4 separate regions of the Homo sapiens genome follow, and all the other regions are linked to region 1. The links are contacts of gene promoters, found by promoter capture Hi-C in blood cells and fetal thymus (Javierre and others, 2016). All regions are on one chromosome and are shown on one strand. The core of a region is centred on a gene start or on the middle of the fragment in contact, and the rest is flanking DNA. Distances in the headings are between cores, read along the strand shown.

Region 1 (3,306 bases), core at 595-3,094:
CATCAATTTTTTAAAAAGTGCATTTCGGATGGGTTCGCACCTGTAATCCCAGCACTTTGGGAGGCCAAGACGGGGGGGGGGGGGGGCCACTTGAGGTCAGGGGTTCAAGACCAGCCTGGCCACCATGGTGAAACTCCATCTCTACTAAAAATACAAAAAATAAAAAAATTGCTAGGCATGATGGCACTCGCTTGTAATCCCAACTACTCGGGAGGCTGAGGCAGAAGGATCGCTTGAACCCAGGAGGCAGAGGTTACTGCAGCCTGGGCCACAGAGGAAGACTCCATCTCAAAAAAAAGAAAGGACATTTCATTGACCCAAATAATTGGGAGATAATAAACACAGAGCTGGAATCTTTTTTTTTTTTTTTTTTTGAGACGGAGTTTCGCTCTTGTCGCCCAGGCTGGTCAAACTCCTGACCTCGAGTAATCCGCCTACCTCGGCCTCCCAAAGTGCTGGGATTACAGGCATGAGTCACCGTGCCCTGGAGTCTTTCATCTGCTTACAAACTTCAACATCAAGGGAAGACTCTTACCATGGTAAATAAAAATTATTAATACATCTGCATGGCCGGGCGCGATGGCTCTCGCCTGTAATGATCGCTTGAGCCCTGGAGTTCGAGACCAGCCCGGGAAACATGAACTCCGTCTCTACTGAAAATACAAAAATTAGCCGGGCATGGTGGCAGGGTCCTGTAGTCCCAGCTACCCAGGAGGCTAAGGCGGGAGGATCGCTTGAACCCGGGAGGTGGAGGTTGCAGTGAGCCCAAGATCGCGCCACTGCACTCCAGCCTGGGCGACAGATTGAGACATTGTCTCGAAAAAAACAAAACAAAACTCTTAAAAAGTTACATCTGCAATACTTACAAATACATACAAAAACAGTAAGTATTCTCCAGGCTATGATAGGACCTTTACAAGACACACCAAACACTGCTATTGCGGATTTTTTCCAATTAACGAACCAGCGTGATCTCTGAACATGTGAAACGGTCGCGGCTTCTCCGGCGCCTAGTCCTGGAGTCACTTTTAATCTAAGCACCACTCCAGTGAGAACCACACAAATACTTAGGAACCTACCAGCTCCATTTCTCCAGCAGTTCTGCTAGTGTGGGGATGCTTACTAGCTGGAATATTAAGAGCTTTTTCTAAACGTCTCTATCCCCGTTTCGACAAAACCGAAAGGAGGCAGATGACGTGTGGAAAGGCCTGGCCCACAGTCACAGGCCGCGCACGCGGAAACTCATCCTCACATCCACCCTCTGCGTTACCCAAAACCGACCCGGGGCGTTTGGGAGACTCAGGATGCCCGAACTTCGGTCATATTTCAAACGTTCCCGGGGCAAGCCCTGCACCACAGATGGCGCCTCGGGCTTGGCCCGGGCCGAGGGCGCAGAACTCGGCCTGGCCCTTCTGCGGCCCGGAGCCCAGGGCCGCCCCGCCTGCAGGCCCGCAGCAGGCAGGCCTCGGAAGCCGACCTCGCCCGCCTCCCTCGCCGGGTCTGGCCAGGCGCCGTGAGGAGCCTAGGCCGCAAGCCCTGAGCTCGAGTTCAGGTCCCCCCGCGCACCCTTGCCTTCTGAAGGCGAGTCGTCCGAGGCCGCGGCGGCAGTCACCGCGGTGGTGGTGGTCGTCGCCGCCGACGGGGCGGGCTGGCTGGGGACCGCCGCGGTTGAGTCCGGCTCAGTGTCGGGTTCCGGCTCCGGGTCCCGGCCCGGCGTGCTGCCCCGAGGACCCGGCGGAGAGAGTTGCAGGATGGGCCTACGGCCGGGTACCGCCCGGGACTTCTTCCCCATCGCGAGCCCAAGCGCGAGCAGAGAGCGTCGGGCGGCCGAGAGGGGCGGGCACTGGAGGCTGGGCGCTGGGCCCTGGGCGCTGCGACGCGTAATCAATATTCATACACCGTGACACCGCCTCCAGCCCGGATCCGCTTTCAACCAGCGGAGCACGCGCTTGCGCAAGCGCCTCGGACCCTTCGGCTCTTCTGGCTCCTCCTCACCAGGAGAAAGGGCGGGATTACCAACTGCGCTAGGCGATTGGCTGTTTTGACCCAGAGAAGGGACCGGTGGCCAATGGAAAAGGAAAAAGGGTGAGAGTCCAGCCAATAGTGCGGTAGGGCCTGAATTAGAACGACTTCCCCACTTCCGTCGGGTTCCACCCATGCGCTTTCCCCAAGCCTTTTCTTTGCCTACTTGTCCTCCATCTTGTGGCTATTCTCGGCCTAGAGTTTCATGTTGTCTGTCTTCTAGAAAGGTGTGCTGCTGGGCCCAGCTCACTCACGCCTGTAATCTCAACACTTTGGGAGGCCGAGGCGGGTGGATCACGAGGTCAGGAGTTCAAGACCAGCTTGTCCAAGATGGTGAAACCCCGTCTCTACTAAAAATACAAAAGATTTAGTCGGGCGCGGTGGCAGGCGCCTGTAATCCTAGCTAGTCGGGAGACTGAGGCAGGCGAATCGCATGAACCCGGCGGCAAAGGTTACAGTGAGCCGAGATCGCGCCACTGCACCCCACCCTGGGTGACAGAGTGAGACTGTCTCAAGAAAAAAAAGAAAGGTGTGCTGTTTTCTGAGCCCTTCCCCACGTTTCGCCCGGATTATTGTGGCTTACTTTGGGTATAGCATTGAACATTAAATGGGACAGTGGGTCTTTTACGCTTTTGTAATTTCCTGCAGCACACAAATAGATGTCTCATATTTTCTCGCTTATTAGCTGGGAAAAATCACGAGATACTCCACTACCTACAAGGAAAAAGCCTAAAATTGTTGGGATGGCATACAGGAACCTTACCAGTTTTGTACTACTATCGTCAACATGCTTTAATTTACCCTTGCTTTAACACTGCCCCCTCTCCCGTCTCCTGCCTCTGGAGCCCGCCACTTGGAGCATCACCTCCCTCACTTTTCCTTTGCACTGACTGGAATAATTACTGCATCACATGATGAAAGTCTTTTATTGTTTCATCAGGGCGCAATGCAGACGCAGTGCAGGCGTGACCTCTCCTGCCCAGCCTCTCCCTGGCACTTGACATCCTGTTGACATCCGTCTCCCCTCTAAACTAAGGAATGCGAGTGGTATTTATTTTTATATCCGCAGCAGCTCAGTTCCCACTAAAAATATCTAATACTTACTGAGCTCTATGTGTCAGTCACCAAGCACTTTACACGTAGAATTGCATTTGATCTTTTAAAATGATTATTTCTAATTTTATTTTTAAACGTGTCTTGCTCTGTCATCCAGGTTGGAGTAACGTGGCATGATTATAGCCCACTGCATCCTCAAACTCCTGGGCTAAAGCCATTTTTTTTTTG
Region 2 (3,495 bases), core at 328-2,827, 1.0 Mb before region 1:
ACTCTACAACCAAGGTTCAGGGAATACTGATTAGCTTGGCCACTTCTCCTTAAGAATATGATGCTGCTGCCCAGTAAAAGGGCACTGTAGAAAACAGAGATATCTTTCTACGTGATATTTCACATGAAAAAAACATGCATCACAGAATCTTGTATATGTTTTTGAACAGGTTCTCTAGAAATTTTTCTGAGAATATTCTTAAGTAACTGTTGGTTAGTTCTTGGACTGGCATGTTATGTAGTTGGAAAAACTGCTATTACTGATCATTAGTCTAGGTCACAAACTTTTTGTTTTTGTTTTCTTGAAATCTTCAACACTATTTATAGCTTTCCATATTAATGACATCTTTTTTTTTTTTTTTTTTTTTTTGAGACGGAGTCTCACTCTGTCGCCCAGGCTGGAGTGCAGTGGCGTGATCTCAGCTCACTGCAATCTCCACCTCCTAGGTTCAAGTGATTCTCCTGACTCAGCCTCCTCAGTAGGTGGGACCAAAGGCGCCCACCACCACCCCTGGCTAATTTTTGTATTTTTAGTAGAGACAGGGTTTCACCATGTTGTCCAGGCTGGTCTCGAGCTCCTGACCTCAAGTGATCCACCCACCTCAGCCATTAATGACATCTTGAATGGCATTTACACATTTCCAAACACTTAGTTTGAAAGCTTTTCTGTTTCTTTCCATTGATATTTAAATGTATCTCTTATCATAACAGTGTAACTGAAGACCTTTTGAACTTGCTTCTAGAGAAAGTTACAAGAAATGCTTTAAATATTTAAGTCACTAAAGTGGTTTTAAAAAATAATCCAAGATTTAAAATCTTCATATCAGATAGAAAGAAAATAGTAAACAATAGTACACATATTTAAGGTAAAATTCAAATTTCATTACTGGAATCATTATTATTATAAATGTAGCATGGCCACTATTTCTAGTTGGCCACAATTTCTTTCTAGTATAAACACTAATGTCATTCAGACCAAACAAATATGAGATCATTTATATGAAACTGCTTCGTAAGTTTAAAAAGATTGGGAAAAAAATTATGGCATTAAGAACGGAGTCAAAAATACTGCAAAACACTCGTGATCTAAACTAAAATAAGCACTTGTTAAATTTGGGATGAGGACAGGCAGACAGGAAAAGAACAACGTCATTGGATAGTTGAAGATAATTACCCATTTAAATTAATTCACTGAGGAGTTAAAGGGCCTGAGCATAGGGAAGAAAAATGGTTAATTGTAATATTTAGAAGAAAGGCCCTAGAGTGTGTACTCCAAAATGGGGGTGTAATAATACATGTACTGGTTAAAAAACATTCTCTATATTTTTTCATCAATTACAGGAAGTAAATTAAATAATTCTCTATTTAGACTTACTATTAGATTCATTACCCATTGCACAGTTTTGCAATTTTCCTTTTGTAAGTGTTAAATAATTAACACTCTGAATATGTTTATTAATCTCAATCTTGATAGAGATAATGACAATTTACTGTGATTTTAAAACTTAATTAAATGAAAAAATCACCCAGAGGATAAAGTTGAACATTTGAACACACTGCTTTAAATTGTCCAACTCTCCATGAATATTGAAAGAATTGCTGATGCATCAAAATAAATCCCACTGGGACAAAAGATATTTCCCTGCAGACTAACCGAAACATCTTCTAATATGATGACAACAGTGCCAAATTTGAAGGAGGTTGATTTAACTTCCTTTTCTTAAATCCAAATCAGCCTAAAGTGTTTATTATGCCAGAGCTACAAATGCTTTCTCCTTTTTTTTTTTTTTCCTGAGTCTCGCTCTGTCATCCAGGCTGGAGTGCAATGGCGAGATATTGGCTCACTGCAACCTCCACCTCCTGGGTTCAAGCGATTCTCCTGCCTCAACTTCCCAAGTAGCTGGGATTACAGGTGTGCCACCATGCCCAACTAATTTTTGTATTTTTAGGAGAGACAGGGTTTCGCTATGTTGGCCAGGCTGGTCTCGAACTCCTGACCTCAGGTGATCCGCCTGCCTCGGCCTCCCAAAGTGCTGGGATTACAGGCGTGAGCCACTGTGCCCGGCCCTTTCTTCTTTCAATAAAGTAAATCTTTCCCCGAAAATCTACATGAAAGGAAGATGACAGCACCTCTTGAGAGCAGGATGTCTCCGTTTTAGGACCTTATTAAAAATGAACCACAGAAATTTGTATAAATAATTTGATAATATCAACAGCAGTGATGTTCTTTTATATATAATATGATCCTTCCTAATAGAATGACTCAGTATATAAAATATATTTAAAAGCAAGTCTACATCGAAGTATACAGAGTTAACATACCTTTGCTTTAGAGGATAATCCTGGAGCTTTGGCCTTTTTTGGATCAGGTTTGGGTTCTGTACTGCTGGAAATACAATCTTCAGCAGGTGCTTTGAGGAAAAAAATATATATATACTATAAACTTTAACTAATATCATTTTATTTTGGACAGGTTAAATATATAATGATGACAAGGAAGCTTGCAGTCTTAAATGTATCAATTTATAAGATGTTTTCAGTTAGTTTTTTTTTTATGAGACAGGATTTTGCTCTATCTCCCAGGCTGGAGTACAGTGGTGCCTTCACGGTGCTCACTGCAGTCCTGACCTCCTGGGCTCAATGAATTCTCCCACCTCAGCCTCCCTAGTAGCTGGGACTACAGGCCCGTGCCACCGCACCCAGCTAATTTTCTTTGTAATTTTTGTGGAGACAGGGTTTCGCCATGTTGCCCAGGCTGGTCTCAAACTCCTGGGCTCAAGCAATCCACCCACCTTGGCTTCCCAAAGTGCTGGGATTACAGGCGTGAGTCACTGTGCCTGGCTTAGATTTTTTTTTCCTAATAATTTTTCTCCCAAAATCTTTAAGCGTAAGAGAGAAATTAATTCAGAAAATCTGTATCTCATTTACCAACATTTAAACTGTAGTTTCATTTGTTTGTTTAGACAGGGTTTCTGTCACACAGACTAGAGTGCAATAGCACGTTCAGGGCTCACTGCAGCCTTGACCTCCCTGGCTAAAACAGTCCTCCTACCTCAGCCTCCTGAATAGCTGGGACTACAGGCGTGCACCACCAAGCCCAACTAATTAAAACAACTTTTTTTTTTTTTTTAGAGACAGGGTCCCACTATGTTGCCCAGGCTGGTCTTGACCTCCTTGTCCTCTCAAAGTGGTGGAATTACAGGCGTGAGCCACCATGCCCAGCCCAGACTGATACTTTCTTAAAGGTAAAGACATCTTTGATATTCAGTATCTGCTACATAGCAAGATTTCAATAAAAACTGAATATGTACTTTAATAAAGAGTTTTACACAGGTAAAATTTTTTTTTTTTGAGACTAGTTCTGGCTCACCCAGGCTGGAGTGCAGTGGTGCGATCGTGGCTCATTGAAGCCTCAACCTCCTGGGCTGAAGCGATCCTCCCACCTCAGCCTCCTGGGTAGCTGGGACCACAGGTGTGCGCCACCAAGACTAGCTAA
Region 3 (3,167 bases), core at 476-2,975, 1.1 Mb before region 1:
GGTCAGGCTGGTCTCCAACTCCTGACCTCGTGATACACCCACCTTGGCCTCCCAAAGTGCTGGAATTACAGATGTGAGCCACCGCGCCCAGCCATATTTGTTTATTATTTTGAGTTGTTGATACTTTCTTTTTACATGAAGTCTGTAGTTTATAAAATGATGAATTTGTCTACTTCAGAGTTAGGGGGAAGAGTTATCGGTGTGTACTGGCAGCAGGCTGTGGATTCAGAACTGTGAAAGCTTCTCCCAATACTATTCAGTCTTGTTTCTACCTGTTTCTTGGGGTTTCAGTGTTTCTACACTAATTTTTAGGTTAATTTCTTGGGTTTTCATTTCCTTATGCATGTAGGTAGTTTGATTATGGATCTTACATTTATGTGCTCTTCTGACTTGTGCTTTTAATATTTTGGGAGCAACTTGCCCACCTCTCAACATTGCCATGATAGATGGCAAACCTCTTTGTGGCTTCTCCAGGCTTCTTTGAGCATCTGTGATCAAGGAAAGGAGCACTTGGCTGTTGGGCTTTATGCAGGGTACAGGGCTTTTACCTACCTATAAGGTTAAGGTCATATCTCCCAACCCTATTCTTACTCTCATGTGTTTGTCAAAAGGACCTAACCCTTGTCCCTCACAGGCCTCGGTTCCCTGGCATCAGATTTTCCTTACATCTATAGCTTTGATTGTACTCTTTATGGAATCTGGAATATCTACCATTTTTCTAGTTCAGCTGTGTGTCCGAACATTTTTATTGTCATTTTATCTACATCTTTATGTGTTTGTAGTGGGAGGGGGAACTGACAGCATCAGTTCAGTCCACCCTGTTGATGAAAGGCCACTTCAGAGATTTATTTATTTACATATATATATATATATATATATATATATATATATATATATATATATATATATTTATTTTAGAGATGGTATTTGCCCTGTTTCCCAGACTGGAGTGCGGTGAAGCAATCTTGGCTCACTGCAACCTCCACCTCCCAGGTTCAAGCGATTCTCCCGCCTCAGCCTCCCGTCTAGCTGGGACTACAGGCGCCCACTACCATGCCTGGCTAATTTTTTATATTTTTAGTAGAGACGGGGTTTCACCATGTTAGCCAAGATGGTCTCGATCTCCTGACCTCGTGATCCGCCTGCCTCGGTCTCCCAAAGTGCTGGGATTACAGGCGTGAGCCACCGCACCTGGCCAAGAATGCATTAAAATATTTTAAATAATTTTTTGTTGTTTAAAAGTGAAAAAAATATAAACAAGAAACTGATTCACTCCCTTACTTCATGCATTCATCATCTAAACCAAAAACAAAATTTTAAAGCAAGAACAAACTACTGCGGAAAGTTTTTGTAAGTCCATTTTCTCTGTACATTCAAACTGCTGACTACTGAAGGGAAAAAAATATAATCCATGGTGTCTGCTGAATCAAAGGGGAGAAACAAGGCTGTCATTTAGTATCCAAAAACTGATACACGTATGTTCTGCTTTTATAATGTGTATTTTTCTCTCTTCTGTTTTTCATATCCAAAACTTGTAAATGCTATTTTAGGGGCAAAGCAGATTAGATTCCAACACTTGTTGAACAGAATTCACAAGCTGTGACAAAACTCTGTCATCTTCGGGGTGCAATTTTGTTTATATACACTGTATGTATATATTTCTTTTAGATTTGGCTGTAGTGGACTGGCCGTGGTTCAAGTGCCACCTTCATTCTAAGGCAAGGATATGCTGTGATGAAATCTTGGAAGTACAGCTAGAGTCATCATTCTAGCTGTTTGAAAAAGTGTATTTGGGCCGGGTGCCGTGGCTCATGCCTGTAATCCCAGCACTTTGGGAGGCCAAGGCGGGCGGATCACGAGGTCGGGAGACCATCCGGGCTAACACGGTGAAACCCTGTCTCTACTAAAAATACAAAAAAAAAAAATTAGCCGTGTGTGGTGGCGGGCACCTGGGGTCCCAGCTATTCTGGAGGCTGAGGCAGGAGAATGGCACGAACCTGGGAGGTGGAGTTTGCAGTGAGCCGAGATTGTGCCACTGCACTCCAGTCTGGGCAACAGAGCAAGACCCCGTCTCAAAGAAAAGAAAAAGTGCATTTGAAGTACGTCCATAAAGAAAGAGACCTAATTTTAGAAGACATTTATGCTGGGTGAAAGTTTTTCTCCACTCTATTATGGACCATATGATGGCAACTAGTTTTGTTTTTTTGTTTTTGTTTTTGTTTTTTTGAGACAGAGTCTCACTCTGTCACCTATGCTGGAGTGCAGTGGCGCAGTCTTGGCTCACTGCAACCTCTGCCTCCCGGGTTCAAGCAGTTCTCCTGCCTCAGCCTCCCAAGTAGCTGGGATTACAGGTGTGCACCACCACACCCGGCTAATTTTTGTATTTTTAGTAGAAATGGGGTTTCACCATGTTGGCCAGGCTGGTCTCGAACTCCTGACCTCAGATGATCTGCCCGCCTTGGCCTCCCAAAGTGCTGGGATTACAGGCCTGAGCCACCGTGCCTGGCTGGCAACTAGTTTTTTTATTTGTTAATTTGATTTTTTTTAATTCAAATCTACAGAAAAGTTGGAAGAATATTACAGTGAATTTTTATGTACTCTTCCCTTAGATTTGCACATTGTTCACTCTTTACCACATTACTTTCTTTCTCCTATATATTGTATAACTATTATTTTTGCATTATATTTACACATTCTTATTCTTTTTTTTTTTTCTGAACCCTTCAGAGATGTTACTTATATCTCATGAATAAGAATGTGGACCAAAATGTAATTTTATCAAATTCAGGAATTTTTTTTTTTTTTGAGATGGAGTCTCGCTGTCACCCAGGCTGGAGTACAGTGGCGCAATCTCGGCTCCCTGCAACCTCCACCTCCTGGGTTCAAACGATTCTCCTGCCTCAGCCTCCTGAGTAGCTGGGACTACAGGCATGCGTCACCACACCTGGCTCATTTTTGTATTTTACTAGAGAAAGGGTTTCGCCATGTTGGCCAGGCTGGTCTCGAACTCTTGACCTCAAGTGTTTACACTCCTCAGCCTGCCAAAGTGCTGGGATTACAAAGGTGAGCCACCACAACCAGCCAAATTCAGGAAATTTAATATTGATGCAATACTGTTACCTAGTATACAGTTGGGTTCAAATGTTGCCAGTTGTTTCAGTACTGTC
Region 4 (3,014 bases), core at 435-2,934, 1.0 Mb before region 1:
GAAACCCTGTTTATAAAAATCAGGGCTGGGCACGGTGGCTCAAGCCTGTAATCCCAGCACTTTGGGAGGCTGAGGTGGATGGATCACAAGGTCAGGAGATTGAGACCATCCTGGTGAACACGGTGAAACCCTGTCTCTACCAAAAATACAAAAAATTAGCCAGGCGTGGTGGTGGACGCCTGTAGTCCCAGCTACGTGGGAGGCTGAGGCAGGAGAATGGCATGAACCTGGGAGGTGGAGCTTGCAGTGAGACAAGATTGCACCACTGCACTCCAGCCTGGGCGACAGAGCGACTCTGTCTCAAAAAGAAGAAGAACCAACCATGCATACCAAAATCCACAGATGCTCAAATCTCTTATATAAAATGGCACAGTTTACATATAACCTATGCACATCCTCCCATATACTTCATTTTTAAAATTTATTTTTATCTTTTTGAGTTGGAATTTTGCTCATTGCCCAGGCTGGAGTGCAATGGTGCGATCTCGGCTCACTGCAATCTCCGCCTCTTAGGTTCAAGTGATTCTCCTGCCTCAGCCTCCCGAGTAGCTGGGATTACAGGTGCCCGCCACCACGCCTGGCTAGTTTTTGTATTTTTAGTAGAGATGGGGTTTCACCGTGTTGGTCAGGCTGGTCTCAAACTCCTGACCTCAGGTTATCCACCCATCGGGGCCTCCCAAAGTGTTGGGATTACAGACATGAGCCACCCTGCCCGGCCTTCCCATATACTTCAAATCATCTCTAGATGACTTACACCCAATAGAACGTAAATACTATGTAAATAGTTATACTGTATTATTTTAAAATTTGTATTATTTTTATTGTTTTCTTTCCCCACAAATATTTTCAATCTGCAGTTGGTTGAATCTGCAGATGCAAAACCCACAGATCTGGAAGGCCACCTGTATATTAAAAGGTGTATATAACGACATTACTTACCTCATACGGTTATGAGGATTAAATGAAAGAACTTACATGGTGCCTTAGCACAATGCCTAGTGCCTAGTAAGCTGTGAATCACTACCACTCGTATTCTCACTATTGCCTGGGAACTGGACCGGGCATTGGGCCTGTTGAAAGTTCCTCTGCCGCTTACCTCGTCCCTCTCTTGGGCCCTGGAAATAGCCCATCAGTGGGGTAGTTGCTTCCTGGAATGTTTCCTCACACAGCAGTTCCCAGCTGGAACAATTTATTTTTCCAAGAAATGGGACCTCTAAGTTATAAGAGTCATGGGCTGGGCATGGTGGCTCACGCCTGTAATCCCATCACTTTGGGAGGCTGAGGCTGGTGGATCACCTGAGGTCAGGAGTTGGAGACCAGCCTGGCCAACATGGTAAAATCCCGTCTCTACTAAAAATACAAAAACTAGCCGGGTGTGGTGGTGGGCACCTGTAATCCCAGCTTCTCAGCTGCTTGGGAGGCTGAGGCAGGAGAATTGGCTGAACTCAGGAGGCAGAGGTTGTAGTGAGGAGAGAGGCATGCCACTGCATGCCATCCAGCCTGAGCGACACAGCAAGAGTCCCTTGCAAAAAAAAGAATCATAGAACTTCAAAGATACCCTTTCAGAGCACATTCTTCACGGTTACTGTTGGCAGAGGTCACAGGTGTGGGATGGAGCATGGCTCCGTCTTGAGAAGTCTCATCCATGAGCTCAGGGAAAGAATGAAGATCAACGTCTGCCTCAGGCACAGGATAGTGGAGTGGAGCAGGGAAACCCTGTGGCTACAGTACCTGGCCTAGGATCTTCTAACGTGGTTTTCCACGGGAAGGGACCTGAGATAGGGATCTTTAGCACCCTCCTCATAACGTTTTTTTTTTTTTTTCTCATTTTTCAACACATCAGAAAACAAACAGGACAGAGTTCCTTGGCCTCATTCTTTGGTTCTGGTTGACTGAAAGGCAGTGAGCTTGCAGGATTTGGCAGCCCAGGGCATCAACTCGATCAAGGGGGAAGGGATTCAGAATTACTTGTGACATGCAGGACCTGCTTTTTAAACAAGAACACACATTCTCATAAGTCTGTTTTCTTCCGACATAGCGGTCAGTGTTGTAAGCTCTAGGGACTTGGGTTTTTCCAGTCAGCTGTGCTAATTCCAGACAGGAGTACAGCCACTCTTTTTTTTCCTCTTCTTTTGTTTCCCTCCTCTTTTTTGAGACAAGGTCTTGCTCTGTTGCCCAGGCTGGAGTGTAGTGGAGTGATCACGGCTCACTGCAGCCTTGACCTCCTGGGCTCAGGTGATCCTCCCACCTCAGCCTCCCAAGTAGCTGGGACTACAGGCTTGAGCCACTATACCCAGCTAATTTTTGTATTTTTTTGGTAGAGCCATGTTGCCCATGTTGGTCTTGAACTCCTGGGCTCAAGTGATTCACCCACCTTAGCCTCCCAAAATGCTACGGTTGTATGAGTGAGCCACCAGGCCCAGCCTTTGTAGCCATTCTTTCTAAATATGTCTTTCCACTATAGCAGCAAACGCCTCCATCATCCCTTCAGTGAACAAATACCCACTCCCATGTTCCCACTATAAAGGAGAGACAAGTTTAATTTCAGGAGGCTCCGGGGCCACCTGAAAACGATGACTGGAACCTTTACAGGATTAATCTTCCATCAATCTTTCATTTCTTGGACATCAATTGAATTGAAGGTGGGCTACAATAGGAAAGTTCCTTTGAACTTTATAACTGCCCAAAATCTCCTCCTGAATCCAGAACCTTTTCATCCTGAAGAGTTTTTCTGACTGTGGAGGGAGGTCCTGTGGAATTTATTCCAGAGGTGAATACTCAGCTCACTTTCTCATCCTTACTCTGACTGAATGTGAAGCAACTGTTAGCCTGGACCAAAAGAGACTCATACAACCAAGCAGCAAACCACTAAGATTTCCCAAACTCCATTAGTCAAATGAACACAAATCTAGTTGTAGTGTGAGAACCACTGAAGCCCAGCCAATCTCTGGGCGCAATCTTGTGTGCCTTTGGTCAGCAAAGTGGTAGGATGCCCAAGAGCTTCTTGAAACGAC

Evidence for each region. The method cuts DNA at HindIII sites, captures the fragments that hold promoters and counts their contacts. A CHiCAGO score of 5 or more calls a contact.
Region 2: a contact is called between a fragment that was not itself captured here and the fragment with the promoter of FNBP4 in region 1, in 3 of 17 cell types (erythroblasts, monocytes and fetal thymus). The highest score is 9.0, in erythroblasts.
Region 3: a fragment that was not itself captured here is called in contact with the fragment with the promoter of FNBP4 in region 1 in 1 of 17 cell types (naive CD8 T cells); the score reaches 5.4 in naive CD8 T cells.
Region 4: a fragment that was not itself captured here is called in contact with the fragment with the promoter of FNBP4 in region 1 in 1 of 17 cell types (M0 macrophages); the score reaches 5.4 in M0 macrophages.

What each region holds. Positions count from the first base shown.
Region 1 is chr11:47,765,497-47,768,802 of GRCh38, forward strand. It overlaps FNBP4 (formin binding protein 4), which reads right to left and starts at 1,845. Exons shown (of 17, transcript NM_015308.5): 1 at 1,573-1,845. The coding sequence starts at 1,792. RefSeq lists enhancers at 210-1,135, 930-989, 1,136-2,060 and a silencer at 1,250-1,859. The HindIII fragment of the contact is 14,946 bases long and covers 1-3,306 here.
Region 2 is chr11:46,765,254-46,768,748 of GRCh38, forward strand. It overlaps CKAP5 (cytoskeleton associated protein 5), which reads right to left. Exons shown (of 44, transcript NM_001008938.4): 27 at 2,322-2,410; 28 at 1-3. Among named protein-coding and RNA genes, the nearest start is that of SNORD67, 4.5 kb to the left of the region's middle. The HindIII fragment of the contact is 1,839 bases long and covers 659-2,497 here.
Region 3 is chr11:46,621,220-46,624,386 of GRCh38, forward strand. All of the region lies in intron 1 of ATG13 (autophagy related 13), which reads left to right. Among named protein-coding and RNA genes, the nearest start is that of ATG13, 5.2 kb to the left of the region's middle. The HindIII fragment of the contact is 2,974 bases long and covers 239-3,167 here.
Region 4 is chr11:46,740,253-46,743,266 of GRCh38, forward strand. It overlaps CKAP5 (cytoskeleton associated protein 5), which reads right to left. Exons shown (of 44, transcript NM_001008938.4): 44 at 2,796-3,014. Among named protein-coding and RNA genes, the nearest start is that of MIR5582, 11 kb to the right of the region's middle. The HindIII fragment of the contact is 5,631 bases long and covers 1-3,014 here.